Regions from separate parts of the Homo sapiens genome. Here region 2 is linked to region 1. Evidence: promoter capture Hi-C in 16 types of primary human blood cells and fetal thymus (Javierre and others, 2016). All regions are on one chromosome and are shown on one strand. The core of a region is centred on a gene start or on the middle of the fragment in contact, and the rest is flanking DNA. Distances in the headings are between cores, read along the strand shown. Region 1 holds the start of SLC1A3-AS1 (SLC1A3 antisense RNA 1). Region 2 has its middle 37 kb from the start of NIPBL-DT.

Region 1 (5,790 bases), core at 2,312-4,811:
GGAGTTTCAGTCCCAAACTTGTAGCCCCACCCTGGGGAGCTTGGGAGGCCCCCTTTTCCTCTGAGCACCAGAGCTAGAGTGAAGGCAGGTGGAATATCCTGTTACCTGGCTAATTACTCCCAGGCCCCACCATGTTCCTGATGGGCTCATCTTGCTATTTTCTCTCCAGAAGAGGAAGTATGAGGTTGTGTGAAAATGTGAGCATGTGTGTCCCCTAAGATACCTTTCCACGCTTCTTTCCCCTTGCCCCAGCCAAAAGGTCATCCAAGGAAGTTGGGGGATAATCAGGCCCAGAGGTGCCCTGGACCAGACGTCCCATGATCTAGCATACGCAAAGGAAGACGCTAAGAAAGTACACATGGAGAAGACGAGGGATACAGGGTGTTTCTTTCCAATCTCTCTGCTTCTTCCAGCAAAAGCCCCACCCTCTAGCCCTCAAGCCTGCTGGCCTCATGGAGTGTAACTAATCCACAGCAGCATCCCTCCTTCTGGGGACACAGTGTTGGGTAAGGAAGTGTAGGGGAGCCAGAGTCTTTGAAACCTTATCAGCCTAAAATCTCAGGGTTACACACAAGTCAGAGGCACTTTCTGTCACCCCTCCTTCTGACCCTGGTCCCACCATTCTCTCAGGTGGAACGCTCCCACCATGCTCTCCCCCTCTATGTCCCACATTAGTCCAAATGTTTCCTTCACGTCATCTCTCATGTCTATAGCTTTCCACATTCGCAGATTCCACCCTAATTCACATACCAAGATTATTACCAGAGACTCTGTTACTGGATTCCTTGACTTTCCCATCAATTATTCTATCTCTCTCCTTCCAAATGACTATCCCTAAGTATCATTGTCTTTGTGCCAAGCTTAGGTACCAACCTTCTGTAGTTCTCATAACCTACAGATTATGATGCAAGGAACTATTAATAGCACAGATTCTGGAGCCAGTCTCCTGGAGCTCCAATCCTGGTTCTGCCACTTATTAACTCTGTTACTTTAGGCAAGTTACTTAACCTCTCTGTGCTTCAGCGTCCACCTCCTAAAATAAGATAAGATAGTAAATACCCCATAGGATTGATCCGAGGATTAAACAAGTTAATACAGAAGTGTCTAAGCAACCAGGAACTGGTAGCTATTATCACTCTTGTTACCGAATGTGGTCCCAACTTCTCAGCCCGGCATCTATTGGTGCATACAGTCAGTACTCTGAAACTACACTCTTGAAATTGTAGATGCTATCCTAGGGGTCGCTAGTAGCTTCTAAAACAAATTAGAAGCCCACTTAAGGTGATAGTCATGGTGGCCAATGAGTCATTCTCTGCTCTCACAGAGTAAAGATTTAATTTGAACTAAGAACCTTAGAAGAAATACAGAAAGCGGGCGAGGAGAGGTGGTTTTTCCCCTCTGCTGTTCCTGGGGACACATGTGATGCTCTGAGAAGGCAGAAGGGAAGATTCGAGCTGATTATAATCTAATGAGGCTGCCAAATCAGTTTCACTTTCCAATACCACATAAGGACTGGTGAGTCTCATGGGCCCTGAGCCAGGATTATTTTAACTGGTAGCATTAGCTGGGTCAGACCGATCAGCCTCTATGGGGAATACTTTGGGAACTGTCATCTTCCAAGCCAGCGCAAGAACAGCCTCTGCCACTGAACTGATGGTGATACACACGGTATTTGGAGGGCAAATCTGATTCACATGCAGTAGCAGGAGATGGAAGAGTGGTTAAAATGAAAGGGAGAGGAGAAGAAGAGCAAGGGACGAGCATAATACAGGGAAAGAAGAATAATACAGGTAGAATAGGAATTACATAGAAGGGAGAAGATCATTTTTTAAAAAAAATAAGGGCCAGGCATGGCAGCCTATAATGGTAGGCAGCACTTTGGGAGGCCATGGCTGGAGGACAGCTTGAGGTCAGGAGTTTGAAATCAGCCTGGGCAACATAGCAAGACCCCCATCTTGACAAAAAATACAAAAGTTAGCCAGATGTGGTGGAACACACCTGTAGTCTCAGCTACTCAGGAGGCCGAGGCAGGAGGATCACTTGAGTCCAAGGGTTTGAGGCTGCAGTGAGCTATGATCATGCCACTGCACTCCAACCTGGGTGACAGAGACCTTGTCTCTAAAAAGTAAAGAAATGAAATAGAAAATAAAAACGAATGGTAGAAATAAAAGGAACTGAGTAGTAGGGGGCAGAGGCATGTCTAGGGGAGAGAACTAGAACTGCCAAGGGATTTGAGTGCCTGATGGATTCTGAAGACTGAAATATACATGACCCCAAAAAGCAATGTCATTTGTAAATATTTGTTAATGAGTTTAGTGAAGTGCTACATGGAGGAATGATCTAGCCAATGAGAACAATGTGCACCAGCCAGTTGGATTCTTGAAGCTGCAGAGACTTCATCTTCAGCCACAGCAGGTGGCTGAGGGCTAGAGTTACTTGGGACTTTCCCCAATGCTCTAGTTCCTTCTATCTCTTGGAAACAAGTCTGGCTCAATATGTTCAGCAGCCCCATTGATGTTGCCCAGAGGAAGTGTGGATCAGGGCTCGCTGACCCCAAGGTTAGCAGCAGAAGAGCAGGGCCTCTGCCTCCCCAGCCAGGAAGCCCACAGTCTTGGCCACATGAATGAAGGAGGTCTTGGCAGCATCTGACACACCTCGGGGTAATGATTTAGCCACCCCAAATTACCGTGTCTCCACAAAATAGTCACTTGGGGCCACACTACATTGTGGAGAGATAATGAAAGAGCTTCTATTTTTGAGCTATCTTTTCCTCATATGCGAATAATTTCACACACAAAAAAATGAGAAAACCACTTCTCTCTGTCACCTACAGAATCAGGAACAGGGATCAGATTATCTTTTAGATACCCGCCCCAAAAAGAAATAAAAATCAAGAAAACATGGGTAAATACCATGGTGGACATTTAAATGAAGCTGAGAAAGAAAGCTTTCTCTATTTAGAGAAGAATTCAAAATGGATGGCAGGAGATTTGTTGAAAATAAGGAAGAGGGAGGGAAAGGTTAGTAAATAATAGGTCAAATCTTCAGCCTAGAGGGCACTACTAAGTTTTCTTTTGTTCCCCCTTAGGTTTCCTGGTGTAGCAGTGCAGTTGCAACGTAGTTTTGTTTTTTGGGTTTCTTTAAACCTAGAGTGGTAAGAGGGACTTGGTGGCGATGGACTGCCATGGGTCGGTTCCTTAGAGGGCTCTTGAGTTTTTCCCACCTGTCTCCAACTCCAGGGCCACCACTCTAATAAAGCCACTGCCATCTCTGACCAGCTCCCCTGCTGTGGCTTTCACTCTTGCTCTCTTTACAGCCCATTCCACACAGCAGCAGCCAGCATGGCACTTCCCGTTCTGGGCCCCTCCCACTGACTGCACCCTGTGCTTGTCCTTCATAGTGTGTAAAGATCTGTATGTGGGGTGATTTGACTAACGGTTCTCTCCCCTTAAGTATAAGTAAACCTATGAGGGCAAGGACTGCTTACCTTAGCATCCTTGGTTCCTGGTAGGATGCCCATCCCATAACAGGCTGGAGCTCCTGGGTGTGTGGGAGGGAGTAGGAAGGAAGCAACAGCTGCCAATCAAAGGCCCATTTGGGCATGTGACCCTTAGCTAGCCAATCAGAATCCTTTCCAGGGTTGTAGCAGTTGAAGCTGTGAGCAGCTCAGTTGGTTGGGTTGTCTGTCTTGTCTTGGCTTGGATTCTCCCAGAAGGAGATCCTGAGTCAATGATTCGGGTGCAAGTAGATTTCTTCTGGGAGCCTTTCTTTAATAAAGCACTTGCACCTGAGTCATTGACTCAGGATCTATTTCAGGATCTCCTTCTTGAGGGAGAGGGCGAAACAGGATCCAGAAGAAGCAAAGCAATGGAGCAGGCATGGCATCAGGAAGAGGACAGGGAGGCTGCCGTAAGCCCAGCAGGCTCCCTTTCAGGCTGTTAAGGAGGGGGATGAGTACGAACATGAAGGTGGCCCAAGTAGCTCTAAGGTCCCTTCTCTCATCTCCTGTCCTTACCGGGGGCCGTAGGCTCTAGATAAAACGCTGCCCCACCACCCGCCAGGGCTTTTGTTTTGGCTCACCTTTCATCCGCCTTCTCAGACTCTGTCTGCCTTGGCTTCCCTCAGCTGAACCCAGGGAATTTGCATTTTGCTATTTTCCATCTGCACTGGGTAGCCTGGCTCCAGATGTTTGGGGCAGCAAATGCAGAAATTCCAGGCAAACGGATCTGATCATTCTCTGCTTGGCTCCACTCGCTGCATCCCAAGCACCAGATGCCTCACTGGTGTCTGCCTACCTTCCTGGGAGGCAGATCCACCGCTCATAAGATAGAGCCCAACGACAAGACCCTGTACTTATGGAGGCCTTTTATTTAACAACTCATTTCATTGAAGGAAAAATCTAGAATCTACTAAGACCTCCTGATATTTTTTAATTAACTAGAAATTGTGGATGTATCCCTCAATATTTTCATCTAAAGTGGTTGAAATGATAATGGAGGGGAAACTGTGTTTTAAAAGCGTGTTACTCCATTTCTTTCATTCACCTCCATCAATGATAATATGAGTTATCACTCTTAATATTAACCACGTGGCAGGCTTCATGCATTCTCACATACATTTCACCCTAAGGCCTGGAGAAGATAATTTCACCAAAGTCACACAGGTAGTACATGGAAAGGTGTAAATTTGAACCTGGATCTTACTGCAAACCCATACTCTTAACTGCTTCATTCAACTTTTGCCAGCAATCATTTGTCATAGACTAAATGCCAGAACCTAAGCCCAAGATTTTGCAGTATACAGAGGAGAAACTGGATGTCTTTTGAAATGCTTCAGAATGGTTTCTATAGTACATATCTGAGCAGCACTCCATGACCAAAGGATGCCAAATCCTTTGCCCCTTGTATTACACTTCATTCATTAGTTCATTCATTCATTCAACAAATGCTTATAAAGCACTCCTGTAAGGCATTATTCTAGGCACTGAGTGTTTGTTATTGAACAAAAAGGACAAAAAATACCTCACTATTCTCAGAGTTTACATTCAGGGATGCAAGAAGGAGCGTGAAACAGGAGATAGGCAATAAACATTAAAAAATTAAGAAAATTTTGTAATATGTTAAGAGGTGATCACTATGGAGAGAAAAAGCAAAGTAAGTGAAATCAGAAGTGCAATTTAAATTAGGGTGGTCAAGTCAGGACTCCCTACGAAGTTGACTTTTGAGCAGAGTGCAGGAGGTGAGGGAGTGAGGCATGTGGCTATCTTGAGGAAGAGTGGTCCAAGCAGAGAGAACAGCCAGTGCAAAGGCCCTGAGGCCCATCCAAGGAACAGTGATAAGACTGGTGTGGCTAGAAGTGAGGGTAATAAGAGACAATGACACAGAAGTAACAGTAGCCAAAAGGCCAGAAATAAGAGGCACTATTTTTATGTCTTGGTCTCTTGAAGGATCAGTAATGTGGTGGTTTCCCCAACACCTGCTAAGCCCTCAAGGTCTTTATATATGCACCATTTTCAGGATTCCAAATGAAAAGAACAGTATGGTCCCGATGGTACCAACGGAGTAGCTTCAGCTGCTCATAGAGCTATTCCTATCCCATTCACCCCACTCCAACACCCACACTCCTCAATTCAGTCTTTCAAGAAGCTGGGGTGACCAGAAACCAGAAGAGGCAAAATTTCCCACCCGTCAGGCCATCTGCAGCTGCCACCTCTGCATGCCTTTCTTCCCCACAGAGCCTGAGACCCTCATTCCTTCCCTGAGAAAGTGCCCTCCAGAGTCTACTTACCCT
Region 2 (5,790 bases), core at 1,946-4,445, 110 kb after region 1:
AAATATAATATATTCCTAAAATTTATTGCACCTAATTCTTTTTACTTTTTTAATGTGGCTACTAGAAAACTTAAAAGAGCAAATGTATCTCATATTATATTTCCACTGGTCCAGGACATAAACTATTAAGCTAAGAGGAAAATCAGGACCCCAGGAACATCCTGATGGCAAAGCATGCAGTTCACATTCTTCTGCACTTCCTGATGAAGTGAGGAGATGGGGAATGGGATGTGGTAGGGCAGCTTTAGGTCTGCACACACGAAAAAGGAAGTTAGAGAAATAGAGAACTCTGGAAATAACTAGACCTGCTGATGTTTACTAAAATGGTAAGAGAGCTAAGATAATAAAGATGTTTTTTAAAAATTGTTTTAACTAAAGCAAGATGAAAAGAAATGTAAACACATAAGTATAATCAGATACCTGTTTCACCAGTCTTGTACACTACCAAATCATTATTAGAACTAACTAATGCCAAGGCTTCCATACTTTGTTTGTTCCCAGCTTATTCCTGACTTCAAGATTTCTAACCATGCTTGTTCAAAGTTAAAAAAAAACTGTTGTAGCCAGCCTTCAGCTAGGATTTTTGTTCAACCAGATCTTCATGCCAACAAGAAGCACCTCTTTCCTACTGTATGCTATTAAAGATTCAATATTTCCTTTAGAATAAAATCCAGACATTTTCACCATAGTTTACATAATCTAGCCCCTGTCTAGCTCTACCGCCTCGATGTTCGCCACTTGCACATTAGACCACTGACACACTGGAATGAATGCATAATCATTCCCATGCAGGAACTTTGCCCTTCCTTTTTCCTCTACCTGAACTACGCATTTGCCAAATCTTTGTGTGGTTTCCTCCTTATTTAAAGAGGCTTTCCCTAGTCATTCTTTGTGATCCTGCCCCCAACATCTCTTTCTATCTCATTGTGCTATTTTATTTTCTTCATAGCAATTACTGCTGCCTGAAATTGCCTTATTTTTTCCTTATTTATTACTAGTCTCCCCCACCCCCGCTTTTCCAAATGTGAGGAACCTATTCACTGTTGTGTCTTTATTGCAGGGTCATCACAGACAGTTGCATTGATTATGCACTGCACAATTGTATCATAGTCTATGTGTATACATACATGGTGGCCTGCTCTCTAGGTGCCTGCCACATATAGGTGCTCAATAAAAATCCAGTAAGTGAATGAAAAGCTGCCTTTGTCCTTCAAGTTTCCCCAGTTTTCTTCAGCTCCTTTTGTTCATTTGTGACCCAAGAGGATAAGATTGAAATATTGATATAGAAAAAAAATAGGTTCTAGTATAGGTAAAATTCTTTTCAAGTCTTTTTCAAAGCAACAAATTCTCTGGCATCTATGTTACATTTGACCCTGTTTATTCTCGTTTGGAAAACCCTGCCCTTCAGATATTACTCCCAACCTAACCCAAGACACATATGCTTTTCATTTTCTTACCGAAAATTTAATCTCTTTATAATTGTTCTCCTTGCTAAGAGCCACAAGATCTTGGCAGGTTTGAACTCATAGTACTCATTACAGATATCATTCATTTGGGAATTTTTTTATGAGTTGACATATGAAATTTCTCCTACTTTTGTATTTATTCCCATCTAGCACTTAAATTTACATCTAACTTTTTATAGTGTGCCCCTGCCTGCGCTTCTACTATATGTTGTTGAGGAGACAGACTGATATTTCTACTTTCAATTCTCTAGGCAACTGTCAACTGTCCAGCCTATAATAGGTCCTCAATATCAAATGCTAATTTGAGATGATTCGCTTTTTTTAGTAACTGAATTTCTGATTCAGAATGAAATCTTTAAAAGGAACCAGGCTCCCTTTCTCAAGATACATCAGTGAAAAACACTTGAAAGTATATATCCAGCTGTTAACATTGTTTATTGAGAGGTTATTAGATTATGGTGGGTTTTTTCCTTCTAAAGTTTCTGACATTTTCTAATTTTTCTCACTGAGTTTTTATTAAAATTTTAATTGGAAAAATAATGGAAATACATTGTGTTTTTGAAGACAGTACAACAATTACATATGCCGTAAATAGGTTTTGAAGACATAAATTCTGCTCAGGACTTGGGGGACTCTGTTCTCGAGTCCAGGCCCTCCCTCATGTTGCCTAGGAAGGTAGTGCCAGAGCTTGCCAGAGGGAAAGAGAATTGGCAGGTGGTGCCAGAAGTCTAGAACCAGGAGCAATCATGGTAAGTCGGAGCAGACGTTGGCAGAGAGAGGTTGAAGAGACAGTTGGAAGCTGGAAACAAGGAGACCATTTTATTTCACTTAATCCATTTTATTTCATTTAAATTTTTTTACTTAGCATTTATCATACCAGCCACTTTCAAATTCATGATCTCACGTTAATCCTTTTATCACTTTGTGGAAGGTATTTATACACTAGTTTTCAGATGGGGCAAAGAGCATTCTCAGAAATGTAAATAATTACATTCATTCTCACAGCTAGTAGGTGGCAGAGACAAGATTCAAACTTCACAATAATTCCCTGCAAGACTCAAGTAAGAGAAGATTGGTGGTTCAGAACTGAGACCACAACTGCTCAGTTTCTAGACTGATGCTGCTTGGAAAAATCCTGTTGCACTTGAACTTGCCTGGCTAAGTTCAGATGTTTTAAAGAAGCTTATCAAACCAGACATTAATTAGGACCCCAAAATCTGGTCAGACGCTAGCAGGAAAGTGGGAGATATATTTTAGGGATTCCTGGGATTCAGACTTCACAGGCCTTGCTCAGTCATCACATTTATTAATATTTGCCCAAATCCTGGGATGGGAATGAGAGAATGAGGAACACACTGATTAGCAACTTTCAATCTCTGCTGACCTAACATTGTGTAATAAATTGGTCAAAAGCTTAGTCTTTGGAATAGAGCAATCACAAGTAAATTCTCAGTTCTGTTTTTTCCTGGCTGGGTGACACTGAGGCCAGGCACTTAACCTCTCTGAGGCTTCATTTCCTTAATGCTGAAATGAACATGGGGGTGTAGGTATCCCTTTGATATACTGATCTACTTTTCTTTGGATAAATACCCAGTAGTGGGATTGCTGGATCATATGGTAATTCTATTTTTAGTTTTTTGAGAAATCTTCATGCTATTTTCCATAATGGCTATACTAATTTACATTATTACCAACGCTGTATGAGTTCCTTTTTCTCCATATCCTCACCAGCATCTGTCTTTTTGTAATTAGCATTCTAACTGGGATACGATAATATCTCTTTGTGGTTTTGTTGATTTACATTTCCCCGATGATTAGTAATGTTGAACATTTTTTCATATAGCTGTTGGTCATTTGTCTTCTTTTGAGAAATATCTATTAATATCCTTGCCCAATTTTTAATGGGGTTATTTGGGGGGTTTTTTTGCGGTTAAGTTCCTTGTACATACTGGATATTATTCCCTTGTCAAATGAGCAGCTTGCAAATATTTTCTCCTATTCAACAGGTTGTCTCTTCACTGTGTTGATTGTTTTATTTGCTGTGCAAAAGCTTTTTGGTTTAATACAGTCACCACATTAGTTCATTCTCACATTGCAATAAAGAAATACCTGAGGCTGGGTAATTTATAAAGAAAGGAGGTTTAATTGGCTCATGGTTCTGCAGGATATACAGGATGCATAGTGGCTCCTGGAGAGGCCTCAGGAAACTTTTACTCACGGCAGAAGGCAAAGCAGGAGTAATCTCTTACATGGCCGGAGCAGGAGGAAGAGGGAGAGGTAGTAAGAGCTACACACTTTTAAACCAGCAGATCTTGTGACAACTCACTATCATGAGAACAGCACCAAAAGGGAAATCGCCACCATAATCCAATCGCCTCCCACCAGGCTCCACCTCCAACGTAGGGGATTACAATTTGACATGAGATTTGGGTGGAGGCACAGACCCAAACCATATCAGTTGCATTTGTCTATCTTTGCTTTTGTTGCCTCTGCTTTTGAGGTCTTTGCCATAAAATCTTTACCTAGACCAATGTCTTGGAGTGTTTCTCCTATGTTTTCTTCCAGTCATTTTATAGTTTCAGGTTCTATATTAAAGTCTTTGATCTATTTTGAGTTGATTTTTATATATAGTGAAAGGGGTCTAGTTTCATTGTTATGCATATGGATATAGAGTTTTCCCAGCACATTTATTAAAAAGACTTGAATGGATGTTCTAGGTGCCTTTGTCAAAAGTTAGTTGGCTGTAAACCAGGCTTGGTAGCTCAGACCTGTAATCCCAGTTATGTGGAAGGCTGAAGTGGGAGGATTACTTGAGCCCAGGAGTTCAAGCCTGCAGTGAGCTATGACCATGCCACTGCAATTCAACCTGAGTGACAGAGAAAGACCCCATCGCTACAAAAAAAAAAAAATCAAATTAAAAAAAAATAAGCTGGCAGTAAATACGTCGATTTATTTCTGGGTTTTCTATTCTCTTCCATTGGTCTATGTGTCCGTTTATACCAATACCATGCTGTTTTGGTTATTATAACCTTGTAATATATTTTGAAGACAGGTAGTGTGATGCCTCCAGCTTTGTTCTTTTTGCTCAGGATTGCTTTGGCTATTTGGGCTCTTTTTTGGTTCAGTGCAAACTTTAGGATTGTTTTTTTCTATTTCTGTGAAGAATGTTGTTGGTATCTCCATAGGGATTGTATTGAATCTATAGATTGCTTTGGGTAGTATGGTCATTTTAACAATGTTAATCCTTTCGATCCATGAGCATGGGATGTTTTTCCATTTGTTTGTGTCTTCTTCAATTTCTTTCATCAGTGTTTTGTAGCTTTCCTTATACAGGTCATTCACCTCCTTGGTAAAACTTATTTCTAGAATTTTTTTGTAGCTATTGTAAATGGGATTGCCTTCTTGATTTATTTTTCACCCAGTTTAATATAAATGTATAGAAATGTCACTGATTTTTGTATGTTGATTTTGTATCCTGCAACTTTAGTGAATTTGTTTATCAGATCTAAGAGTTACTTGGTGGAGTTTTTAGATTTTTTTAAATATAAGATCATGTCATCTGCAAAGAGGGACAATTTGACTTCCTCTTTTCCAATCTGGATGCCTTTTACTTCTTGAAATAGCATTTCAACAGATAAGAAAGGCATTTACAGATGTTTTCTTTCACCAAAAGGTGTGGCATAAATAATTATTCATGAAATATTAAACTGTTTATTATGTAGCATTTCTCAGCAACAGAACAACAGAAGAAGGTATGGCTCTCTTTCATGTTAGCTTAAAAGAAACTTACTACACGTGTTTTATAGATATATAACATATGCTTTTAGAAAGGGTCTACCTGGGTGGCAATTTTCTTTTGCTAATAGACTCACCAGGGGGTTGTCCTATGCTTTCACGAGCTCCAGAGCAGGTGGGCTGCAGAGCTGACCACTTTCCCATCTACTCCTCAAGGGGTCTCTGCTGCCACTCATCCCTGCAGCTTCTCATCATTTCTACCATTTCTAACCTCTGCTACTTCTGCAATTATACCACTTCCTTTACTAACCACTCCTCTTTCTTCTTCTGTTTTCTAGTTCCTTTCACTTATTCCCTGCTTCATGGATTTAACAAACAAAAGTTAGCAAGATGATTTTTATGAATAGTATTCACCAATTAAGGCACTGTTTTGTTTTGGTTAACACAACCATCATAAGCCTCTGCCTTTCTTAACCTCAAACTGAAGTGTCTGAAGCCTTTCTCTGCAATATTTATTTCATTTAATTATGATTCCAGACTTGTTCTTGAAGATTCAGAGTTGTTAAAAATGGATGCTGGGTAGGCAAGA

Evidence for each region. Contacts are between HindIII fragments. The CHiCAGO score rates a contact against its expected background, and 5 or more counts as called.
Region 2: a contact is called between a fragment that was not itself captured here and the fragment with the promoter of SLC1A3-AS1 in region 1, in 1 of 17 cell types (monocytes). The highest score is 5.8, in monocytes.

Annotation. Positions count from the first base shown.
Region 1 is chr5:36,721,627-36,727,416 of GRCh38, forward strand. It overlaps SLC1A3-AS1 (SLC1A3 antisense RNA 1), which reads right to left and starts at 3,562. Exons shown (of 2, transcript XR_007058736.1): 1 at 3,488-3,562. RefSeq lists enhancers at 2,140-2,189, 2,200-2,249, 2,290-2,559. The HindIII fragment of the contact is 5,384 bases long and covers 2,946-5,790 here.
Region 2 is chr5:36,836,792-36,842,581 of GRCh38, forward strand. No RefSeq gene overlaps it. Among named protein-coding and RNA genes, the nearest start is that of NIPBL-DT, 37 kb to the right of the region's middle. The HindIII fragment of the contact is 637 bases long and covers 2,878-3,514 here.